Regions from separate parts of the Homo sapiens genome. Here region 1 is linked to region 2. Evidence: promoter capture Hi-C in human tissues and cell types (Jung and others, 2019). All regions are on one chromosome and are shown on one strand. The core of a region is centred on a gene start or on the middle of the fragment in contact, and the rest is flanking DNA. Distances in the headings are between cores, read along the strand shown.

The links. The method cuts DNA at HindIII sites, captures the fragments that hold promoters and counts their contacts. A contact is called where the count stands out against the background at its distance.
Region 1: a fragment that was not itself captured here is called in contact with the fragment with the promoter of TEX35 in region 2 in 1 of the 25 tissues and cell types used here (dorsolateral prefrontal cortex).

Annotation. Positions count from the first base shown.
Region 1 is chr1:178,472,031-178,477,658 of GRCh38, forward strand. RASAL2 (RAS protein activator like 2) reads left to right here. Exons shown (of 18, transcript NM_170692.4): 18 at 1,045-5,628. The coding sequence ends at 1,209. Among named protein-coding and RNA genes, the nearest start is that of CLEC20A, 22 kb to the right of the region's middle. The HindIII fragment of the contact is 4,100 bases long and covers 1-3,773 here.
Region 2 is chr1:178,509,642-178,515,168 of GRCh38, forward strand. TEX35 (testis expressed 35) reads left to right here and starts at 3,468. Exons shown (of 9, transcript NM_032126.5): 1 at 3,468-3,586; 2 at 4,386-4,436; 3 at 5,059-5,127. The coding sequence starts at 3,548. It overlaps LOC101928866 (a long non-coding RNA gene), which reads right to left and starts at 3,409. Exons shown (of 6, transcript XR_001738307.2): 1 at 3,001-3,409; 2 at 2,435-2,641; 3 at 1,340-1,418. The HindIII fragment of the contact is 4,578 bases long and covers 2,128-5,527 here.

The DNA of each region.
Region 1 (5,628 bases), core at 474-2,973, 39 kb before region 2:
TAAAGACTGTTTCCTGCGTTGTTTTCTGAAAACTATAGACTTCATGTTAGAAAGGTTCTAGAATGATTTACTGAGCTGCTGAAGCTAAGATTAGGGTATCTCTTCTAACCTAATCCTTAGGAGACTGATAATGTTTTGATAAAATGATTTTATTAAAAAAATTTTAGATAGTCCTACTTTCCTTTAGTTAGACTGCCTATTTTTTTTCCTCTTTTCTTCCCCCTTGGTTTTTGTGTGTGTGTATTCACCAATGCTTGGTTTCCAAATATTGTTTCTAAAGCATTTTTTTTCAGAGACTCAAAAGTAAAATGAAAGCAATCTCCGTATTGGGCAGCCCTCCTGGAGTAACTTTGAGCTGGAATGGGTCTAGGAGCCTGTGTTCTCTGTTTGTTCTCATGTGTTATGTTGATGGCATTCCCTTTTCGGCACATCTCCCTCCCCATATTCAAGTAACTCCTTGGTCTGAGCTTTTTGGCTGCTTTTTTCCCCTCTTGCTGTTGCAACCTCACCTTGTTGGTGACTCTACACTGCCACCATGTATTGTTTTAATTTTGAGCACAATGTGAATTCCTTCCAAATGTGACTGATATGCCCTCTTTTGGGGCTAAGAACCCATAGATCACATGCTCTTCTCCTCTGTGAAATGAAACCTCTGGTGCTTCTTTCTTTGCCACCTAATTTCCATGTTTCAATTTTGACCTAAAGCACTTAGTATAATAAGGCAGCTTGATACCTGTGTTGCATAGTCTGAGGTAACACATGGTATCACTTTTACATGACAGTCTAATGTCCCAAGAGATTGTTAATAAAAAGTCCTGCTATGCTGAAAGAAAAAGAGAGAGAGAAAAAAATAAACACAGATCCACTGGGCTCAGGGGAAGCTGAACCTGACCAGTGTGCAGAAAGAGGCAGAGACGTTCCATTTGTCTGGGAAGCACCATGCATACAACTGTTTGAGAGAAAGCACTGGACTAGTCATTCAGTAAAGAAAGCGTGTTACCTCCTGCCTGTAGCCTGAATAAAGCCATGATTGGTGTGTTGTAGGAAAAACGGATCGTGTCCCTGGATTCAGCCAACACCAGACTGATGAGCGCGCTGACCCAAGTGAAGGAGCGGTACAGCATGCAGGTCCGCAATGGCATCTCCCCCACCAACCCCACCAAGCTTTCCATCACGGAGAATGGTGAATTCAAAAACAGCAGCTGCTGACGGGCTTTGTCTGTGGAAGGAGACAGAAGGAAATTGACCCACTCTCCTATCTCCAGACCTTTACCTAGCCCCTCCAGGTTTACAGAATGTTGCTACTTCACAATGGCGATGTGGTGAGAAACTCCTGAATGAAGAAAGGAACCTTGTCTTTCAGGGCATAAGGCGGCGACTTCCAAGGTCAATGCTTTTCCCCCACATCTCTATGTACATAGGGAACTTAGTTCTGGGCCATGTACAGAAAATATCACTGTAATATACCAAAAGGAAGTTAATAATGTAGATTACCTTTTTGATTATTGCTATTTTTATTATTGTTTTCCTCTTGTTGAAAGCACTGCAGTTGTTACAGGAAGTAAAGTAGGAACTGTTGTGTGAGCGAGACATGAGCCTGTAGGTTCAGTAGGTAGAGACCAAGCATCTATCTGATAGAAGCACATGGAGTGCAATAGGACATTGTGAGAAGGAATTTTTCAGGGATTCATCTACTAGTTTAAAAACCCCACTCTGGCCCTCTTGTCCTTTCAGAAAACATGCAAATACCAAGATCCATACAAAACAATAATTTATTCCACTGATCAACCAAGACTGGTTCTGGTTGGACAGCTAATCTGATTTGGGGATTCACTGTTTCAGAGGACACAGACAAAAGCTGTTGCATCAAAACTGGACTTTAGGAGTAATTTCTATTGAACTCCTGTCAATATGTTTATTTCCTCTGTCTACAGCAGATGGGAGTCTTCTCTTTTAGACAGGGGCTTTTTGTTTTTAACCCCAATTGTAATAAAGGGTGTTCTTTTTCCTCTTTAGAGTTTACAAAACTATAAATATTTGTGTCTCCACATACCATCTTCATCTTCACACATTCACTGTGCTTTCCTCCCCATAGTGGGAGCTGTCATCACCAACAGGGTTTACTCTCCCCTGGAGAGGTTATTTAAATAGCTGTCCATAAGCCATCCAGATCAACACCCTTTCTTCCATACAGAAAAGGGCTAACCATACCACAGCTGGAATCTCTGAATATTTCCTATTAAAAATTTTTTCTATGTGTTGTTATAATTTTTGTTTGGGATAAAGACTCTATCCATTGTACTAGCAAATCTATGGGGGGTAATTTTATCTCCATCTTTAACTTTTAAAGTACTTCTTCCCCTTATCCCCTCAATAAAGAAAGGAAATCCAAATTTGAAGCATCACTCTCTTAAAAGAAAAAGAAAATAATGGAAAGTGTCAGGATGGCACATTCCAGTTATTATTCCAATGCTCGTAGATCTGACAATAATGACCCAATTTCAACACTTGTCATCCATAGCCTTATTATTATAGAACAGAAAAAGTCATGGAAACGAATTCATTTCCTTTTTTCCAGAGGTGTGCAATGTCATCTTGAATGCAACCTTGATTACCAGAAGTATGGAAGGTTACATGTTAAACAGACATTATATATACAAATATATATATAATATATATTCACACATATGTACATATAACTGCACAAATAGGAAAAGTTCATGCCTTCTATGCTGTTCAGATATAATGTTAAAAGGGTCTCAAACCTCTTTAAGCAAGATCTAAGTAGTTGTTTTATATTGAGAAAGCAACAATGTTTCTCGAATAAGTTGATGTTGATTTTAAATTATAAGCTTTAAAGAATTTTTTTTCTAGAAAAAGGGGATGGAAAAAAAAGGACCTGAGGGAGCCATATGCATCAAGTGAGTGTTTCTCCATAACAGAATATTTATAAGAGAACATGTATAGTGCCCTCTTTTGAGTGATGCCGACAGACACCAAGCCCTCCTTTTCACCAAGTCCCAGGCTTGCATTCCAGCCTCTTGAGCTCTGCCCTCTCTCAGGTGGATCTTTGTGTTGGACCTTACGTTTCAGCAACCTCACCATGGCCACATAACCCACAACCTTTTAAAACAGTTTCTTTCATAGCAATCCCTGTTTCTGCCAGACAGATCTAAAATGGGAGTTTCTCACTGTGTTTATCTGATCTGCACACTTTATATCCAGCTGTTTTGGCACTTTTACGTTTTCTTCACCTTTGGTTTTGGTTTGCAAATTCTTACACCTTCTCTCCAAGCGGAGGGCACACTGTGGTCAAAATCACTTATTTTATTAGGAAAAAGAGGTAACTGTTCCAAAGTGTAGTGTCCTTTGTTGAAGGAGGAGGGATGTAAGCATAGATTTGTTCTTGTTTCTGGCTATTCTCAGCTCAAGCCATGTTTAATTCATTCTTTGTAAAAGCCTTCAATTGTGCCACAGAAAACCTGGTAAGAGAATTGTCAGTTTCATTGGCCATAAGTATGTAATGTGGGTGATGTCTTGCCATTGAGGTTTGGAAGCTCTTAAGTGCCGATTATGGATTACAGAGGGCTGATAAAATTACTTATATTGGGAATTGAGAGAAGCCCCAAAAAATCAAATGTGCTTTTGATGGATAGAGTGTATCTTATTAGCATTATGGGAGCTCCTTAGAGGGCTGTCTTCACTGAAAGATTTAATGCCCAAAACATTTGGACAGATTATGCAGCCTTCTACTACCAGGTTATCTTGAATGAAGAAGAAATAGTAAAAAATAATAATAATAGAGCATTACCAATAAGCTAAAAGTTCAGAGTTGCTGATAGATGTTAAATGTTAAGTTATCCTGTGAGCCTACTCCTGTCCAACCTTTTTTCTCAGTATTTCTTTAGAGAATGCTGCAATCTGTATAAGTTACTCTGAAGGATTTTTTAAGAAGAGAAGCCACCAACAGGTGATAATTTTTATGGAGATGTTTCTTAATTGGCTTTCCCTCAGTTCAAGTAGGTAAATAACTTTGTTTGCTGGGAGGAGGTACATGGCTGAAGAGAGGCAAATAGATTAAGATAGCAATGTCTTGCACTTCCTGTTTCCCTCAAAACAACACCACATTGTGGGGCGCAGGATAGATCAGGGTTGAGTGGAATTTGGAATTCAGGTGAAGTGCTTGTAAAGTGCATGTCTAGCTGACAACAGACTTGACCATTAATGAGGACAGTGTTGGTAGGAGTCAGAAAAGAGCTTCATATTCCCCTTTTATATTACTGAAGCAATAAGCAATCTGAGCTGAAGCAGCAAAAAGAGTCACATTTCCATCAGGTCATCATATTCCCTGAGTCTCTGCAGCAAAAGCCATGTCAGAGGGGAGATTATAACTAGGTAACTATAACAAGCACTTGAGCACTTACCATGTTCCAAGCACTATCACCAAGGTACTGTTGGGGTTTATGGCAGTCTAACGGTAAGAAAAATGTGGTAAAATGAGGTAATCATGCTGCTATAGCTTTTTGCTTTTTTTCATATAGTATCAAGTTGGTCAGAATTAGCTTTCTCTGACTGGTCTGCTTCCGTGTTTCTCTGTGATGGTGTTAAGATTATGAAAGAAAAAGAAGATTACCTAAGACTGCTACAAGTGTTAACTATATGCCCTTAAGAATGAGCTTGACTTTGGAAGTAAAGCTTTTCAGATCTTAGTCTACCCGGGGCCTTTGTTGATGGGTCTGTGGTTCTGTAGACCCCTGGCTTTCACTGTGTTCTCAGAGGTACACCAGATTGAGAGCAGAGTTCTTCTTTGGAAGTCCCAGAGCAAAATAACTGCCATCAAGTGAGTTTGCATTCGTATTTGTTTCCCCTTCCATAGAGGGTTAGTTTTAGTTACCTCTAGCTTGGAGTTCCTGAGAAGGCTGGTTATAGGACTGAGCGTGGGAAAGGAACCCTCTTCAGGATTACCTCAGTCCCATCAGTCTACCCCATTGTGACATTGAGCCCAACACACACGCTTGACACCAGACTAGACTTGTCACAGGGCCAAACCCAACAGCCACATGCCATAGCTTCACTGCATTTTCAGCTACACCTTTGGAGGCCACCTTCTCCTATCAACTGTGGAAAGCCAGAAGGGCTCCCTTCTCCATTCTCCTTCCCTTTTTCAAGTCTAATAGTGAAATCTCCTGCTTACCCCAGCAGTAAATAGTTGCCTTCCTACCCCTTACCTGGGGGCCGATAATTTGAGATACTTTGTTTTTTCAATGCGTCAGTTGAAGGATTTAGTTTCTTAAAAGCAAGAAATGTTGGAGTGTTGAATTTTTAAATAGAATCTCTTTTCATGTTTGAATGATTGTTATTAGTTCTAGAAGCATTCTCTTTGTCATGACCCGATTATGTATACTCTTGGGTTTAGGAAGGACAAAAGTGATGAAATTTGCATGAGATAGAATAAATATCTTAGGAGGAGTGAAAGAACCTGAGGAAGAGACACGACCCTAAGGGAATGAATGCATAAGCAGTCTTCTCAGTAGCCCAGAGTTTCCAGGAAACAGGAATATTTATATCCCTTGCCCACTCTTAAAATACATAGATACATAAAAAGGCAGTCTCTGTAGACAACACATG
Region 2 (5,527 bases), core at 2,218-4,717:
GCTGTCAGAGGTGGACAGGAGGCTATTAGGGGAGGGAATCTCAACTGCAGAGCACCTTCCGGCAGGGAAGCTGAGAGAGACAGGCGTGAAATCATCACTGTACTCTATTTGGGTTCCATCCAAAGAGGGTAAAGGGAACTGGCTAAGTAAGGAGGCCTCAGGAGCCCTGTTTGGCAGGAGCAGGGAGAGCCTCTGCTGGCTGGCGGTGTTGTCTTTATCTCACATGGTAGGTGCCCTGTGATGGTTGGTTGTGGGAAGAGTAGCAGTTTCCCCTGGGTCTCAGAAGGCCCTGGCAAGCATAGGCCTGTCATGGTGAACTTACAGAGAAGATCCTTCCACAATACATTTGCTCAGACTTTTCACTTGTCATTGGCTGTATTGAAATAGCCAGAGATTTACAATGATCTGTTCAGACTGTTATGTTTTGTTGCTGAAATAGAGGTACCAGGAAGTTCATATGATAAAAACTGGATATAAATTTTCCAAAGAAACAACATAATAGGATTATGATTCCAGCCAAGGTCTGATACACTATGATAAAAATGATCAGAAATTGCATAGTAATCAGTGTGCCAATGATAAAAGCTATTTCTACTCTGCTCGGAGTAAAGCTTTCCAAGGTGTCTATAAATCAGTCAAGTAGGATGACACAGGAATCAATCATATGAGATCTCTAAAAATGTCATGTAAGAGGATCTCATGTAAGATCGTCTCTGGCTGAGGGCAGCCACCCAGATACTGCAGCCTGTTGGGATGTAAACAGCCAGGGCATCCTAAGTGTGAGTCGTCTAGGTCACATGTATTGAGCCGTGTCTGTTTGAGTTTGACTGGACAGCAAAGCCTGTGGGATTCTGGGTCTTTGTGAAATGTTCCACCCTAATCAAAGGACTTTAGAACATTGGGCCCCCAGTGGTCGAATAGGCCCCTCAGCACGCATGATGTTCTCTTCATGTTCTCTGGGCCTTGACGCAGGGAGTGGCTGAGCCTGGACCTCATCATGGGCCAGACCCAGAATCACAAAATGCCAAACTCAGAGGCTTAAAACCATTTTAAAATTCCCCCCGACCCCAGCCTCCCCTCACAACACTGTATCCTTAAAACTGAAAAAAAAAAAGCAGGACCCTTGTAAAGAAAATGAAACCCAAATGATATCAACTTGGAGAACAGAGACAGGTGGCTGCTTCTTTCTGTCTGTTGTGAATATTCCTTTTCCCCCAAACTCCGATGGAGCAGCAGTGGGCTCTATGCTGCTTGCCCTGGTACAGAGGGGTTTTGCCCTGAAGGGGGATTAGGAAAAGCGTGTCTGGCGTTCTTCAAGTAAGAACGTCCTATGGCTTACCTAGAACAAAGTCACACCACAGCAATACCAACACTGCAACACTGCTTCAACCTCGTTTCTCTTGCAGGTGCAAAAGCTTCTTAAAAGAATATGAGAATCATTATTCAGACTGGGCATGGTGGCTCATGCTTGCAATCCTAGCACTCTGGGAGGCCGAGGTGGGAGGATCCCTTGAGCTCAGGAGTTGGAGATCAGCCTGAGCAACATAGTGAGACCTTGTCTCCACAAAAAAATTTTAAAAATTAGCTGGGAGTGGGGTGGCGCATGCCTGTGGTCCCAGCTACACAGGATGCTGAGGCAGGAGAATTGCTTGAGTCCAGGGGTTCGAGACTGCAATGATCCATGATCATACCACTGCACTCCAGCCTGGGAGAAAGAGCAAGATCCTGTCTCTTCATAAATAAATAATCAGTATTCAGGTTCGCCACGTGGATTCCCCCAGCCCCGCCAGAATATATCGATAAAACAATGGTGTACAATGTTTGAGAACATGAATAGTAAACGCTGTGAGAAGGCACAAGCCCAGAGCTGTGGCTCTGTAGTTAAAATTCTGCCCAAATGATAATACCATGTGTACTTGTGTATATATACATAGATAATTTTTTACTTTATAATGCAGCTTTGCATTGAGACCCTGATTTCTCTTAGACCTTCTTTCCTAATAGATAGGCCAGTGGGCTCATGTGCTATGCTTGGCTAGAAGGCAGCTCATTTAACAACTGCTCAGCCAAGCAAGGGAAGCTCTACTGCAGGTCCAGGAGGCCCCCAAGCCAAAATTAGCAGAAGGAGGTGGGGCACATTTTCACGGGGCTGGTGGATGTTGAGATGGAGTCAGTCATTTTCACTGTAATTCCCTTAGAGGAAGGGCATTCCTACCACGAGGCCATCAGATCTGAGAGGGCTGAATTAAAAGGTCCAAGGAAACTGAAAAGTTCCAGCCCCTCATTTATAAGTGGGGAAAGTGAAGCCTGGGAAGCTGGTGACCACCCCCAACTCCCTCTCCTTCCGCTGATGCAGTGGCAGACACATTCTCCTCTGGCTATGGTGGAGTAAGACCCACAGCTGTCACCAGTGTCAGGGCTGGGAAATCACCACCTAGGAAATGCATCAGAAGTGCTGCAGGTGGCTCCAGAAGTTCCAGTGGCCTCCAGGAAGGATAGTCCCAAGCAGGTGTGTGAAATGGGAGGGTAAGTGTGGTCAGTAGTGGCCTGCATGGGGATGTCATTCACATGCAATTTGCATTAGTTCCTGTACTCCTGTGCTGTCTGTCCTCAGATGTCCATGTTGGCCTTTTCTGTGCAACTAGCAGTTGAAATGAGAGGGAAGAAGGAAGTGAATGACCAGTGATAAGAGGAAAAGAGAAATCAATTTCACCAACCCAGATCCCCAGTGATTTTTTATCCCATGGGGTGCCATGTTCCTCTGACTGTCTACTTTAGCACAAACTATGGCTACCCGCAGAATGGCCTTTTCTTTAGTATTCTTCATTTGCCCGAAAAGCTTCTTATCTTTAGCTTCTTGTCCCAACCCTCTTCCCGGATGATAGAAGAACTAGGAAAAGAGAATTTTTAGGTGGGCAGGGGTCTGGGGGTGGTTGTGGGACAGGGGCAGTGTGAGGTCAGAGGCATCAGAAACCATCCTGCTGAGACTGGCTACCCCACCTCATACAGAGTAACCCAGGTTAAGTGAGACGGTGCATGCACGTTGAACCAGAGAGACTTCATGGCATCCTCCAGCCCAAGGTGGCTTCCGGTCCGAGGTGGGGTCGGTTCGCGCGAGGAGCGCACAGCAGAGGACATGGGCTGTGCGCTCAGAGGAGGAGCTGGCTGTCCCTGGAGGACGTCCTTCTGAGTCAGTAGGTGAGTCCTGCTGCAGAAGGAGCCACTGCTTCTGACGCGTGCCTTGCACTTCGACCGTAGCAGGCCATGATCCTCCTCAGTGTGGACTTTCCTTCTGTTGCAAGAGGGAGGCCTGGTGGGACTCTGAAACCTGGCCTGAACCCCTCATCTCAGTGGCCGAAGCCCCCCAGGCCTGAAGCTGTGGTGACGCTCTGGACCACCATGTGGGTCCTGGCATTGTGACCTCAGCTGTTCCGTACACAAAGGGGTGGTCACCCTGCCCTCACCTTGACCTGTAAGTTGCCTAGGACAGTGGCCTGGTCCCAGGGGCTGTTGTGGGGAGTTGAAGAACACCCTGGCCTCCTCCATCATGTCGGCCAAGAGGGCAGAATTGAAGAAAACACATCTGGTAAAAGAGAGACATTGCTGGACAGTGTGGGTCCTCTCTGAGCTCCTACTGAATGGAGATGGTGTCGGGGCAAGGGATACAGAGAATGCTCGCATGAATCTCTGGTTTTTCTTTCTCTGTACTGAGCATAAAGCAGCCTCTCAGTCTGGAAGGGGTGTGGGATTAATCCCTAGCCTTGGGGGTGGGAAGGAAAGAGGCCTCTGCTGCCTCCCTCTGGGGATGAGGAGCACTGCCAAGGGAGCACTCCCTACTCCAAGACCACTCATGGTTCCACGGCCCATGCCAGGCCTGCCAGGCCCACATCTAACCAGCAGGGCTAAGGCTCAGAATAACCTTATTAGATAAATATAATCATCACGTCGATTTTATAGATGAGGAAATGGGGGCTCAGAGAGGCTAAGCAACTCACCCAAAATAACAGAGATAGTAGAGAGGTCAGCTGAGACTATAGTGCAAATCTGCCTATGGCCAAAGCCCTTGCTCTGGAAACAACACTTCCGGGGCTTGCTTCTAGTTATCTTAAAGTGCTTTCTCCACGCTGGCGCCTCCAGCAGGGAGAGGGCTGCCTGCCAAATAGGCAGACACACGCCCATAGGAAGAGGACAGCACGACAAGATGTGATTTGTTAGGAATCGGATCCGGGTGCTGCGGGGTCTGTGAGCCTGAGCTCAAGCCAGTTGGACAGGCAGGGTTGCATGGTTGTGGGGGGCAGGGGGCAGGGTTCCCGTGCAAGGGCCAGATGTTCTCCTCCCCAATCCTGATGTCTGCCAGCCTGAATCTCAGTCTCCTCTTTTTGCAGAGCAAGAACTACAAGGCAGTTTGCCTGGAATTGAAGCCAGAGCCGACCAAAGTAAGAAGCCCTTTTGAGGCCATGCAGGCAGCCAGGCCTGAGATCCATGGGGAAGTGACCAGGAGTCAGGGGTCATTTGCTGATCCTAGTGGCCAAGATTTGTCCCAGGTGCTGGGGGATGCACTGAGAGTTCTTGCTCTCATAGAACTTCACACTGTAACCAATCAGATACATAAACGAACAAGGACTCATTCAGCAGTGTTACCTGCTCTGCTGGGAATCAAGACAGGGAGACATGTCTGAGTGGCTGCCGTGGAGTGGGTGGTAGGGAAAGGCCTTCCTTTGAGCTGAGAGCTGAAGGACAAGACTCTGGCTTTGCAAAGGCAGAGTAAGAGCCTTCTAGGCAGAGGAGGCAGCATGCACTGAGGCCCAAGGTGGGAATGAGCCTGGCTGTTCAAGGGACAAAAGGAGCTGAGGCCCCGTGGGCCAGCAGGGGAGTGGAACAAGATGAGCTGAAAGAGGGAGGAGGATAGAGGAACCTTCTGCACAGGTGGGGCCACCAGCTTTCCTCTTGCCTTAGCCCTAAGGGAGGAACAGAAACACAGGGGGATCTCTTCTGCCTCTGCACTTCCACCGCCCATCTGCAATTCCCAAAGGTCTGTGTTCCTGTTTCAATCCACAGACATTTGATTACAAAGCAGTTAAACAAGAAGGGCGGTTTACCAAAGCAGGAGTGACACAGGACCTAAAGGTGAGTGCGTGAACTTGGAGGCATGTCTATATTCCAAACCACGTGAGTGTAAGTTTTCCCCAAATCCTCAGTGCCTGTTTCCTAAATACAAGAATATCCTCTTACATAGGCACAGTGCAATTATCAAAATCCAGAAGTTAACACACAGACAATACTCATCTATAGCCCTTGTTCTAATTTCACCAGTTGTCCCACACATGTGTTGCATAACAACAGAAAGGGGACGTTTTCTGGTCTAGGGTCTGATCCAGGATCACACATTGCCTCGAATTACCAGGTGTCTTTTCTATAATCTGGAACAGAACAGTTCTTTTTCTTTGGGTACACTGACATTTATTTATTTTTATTTTATTTTTTGAGACAAGGTCTCCCTCTGTCGCCCAGGCTGGAGTGCAGTGGC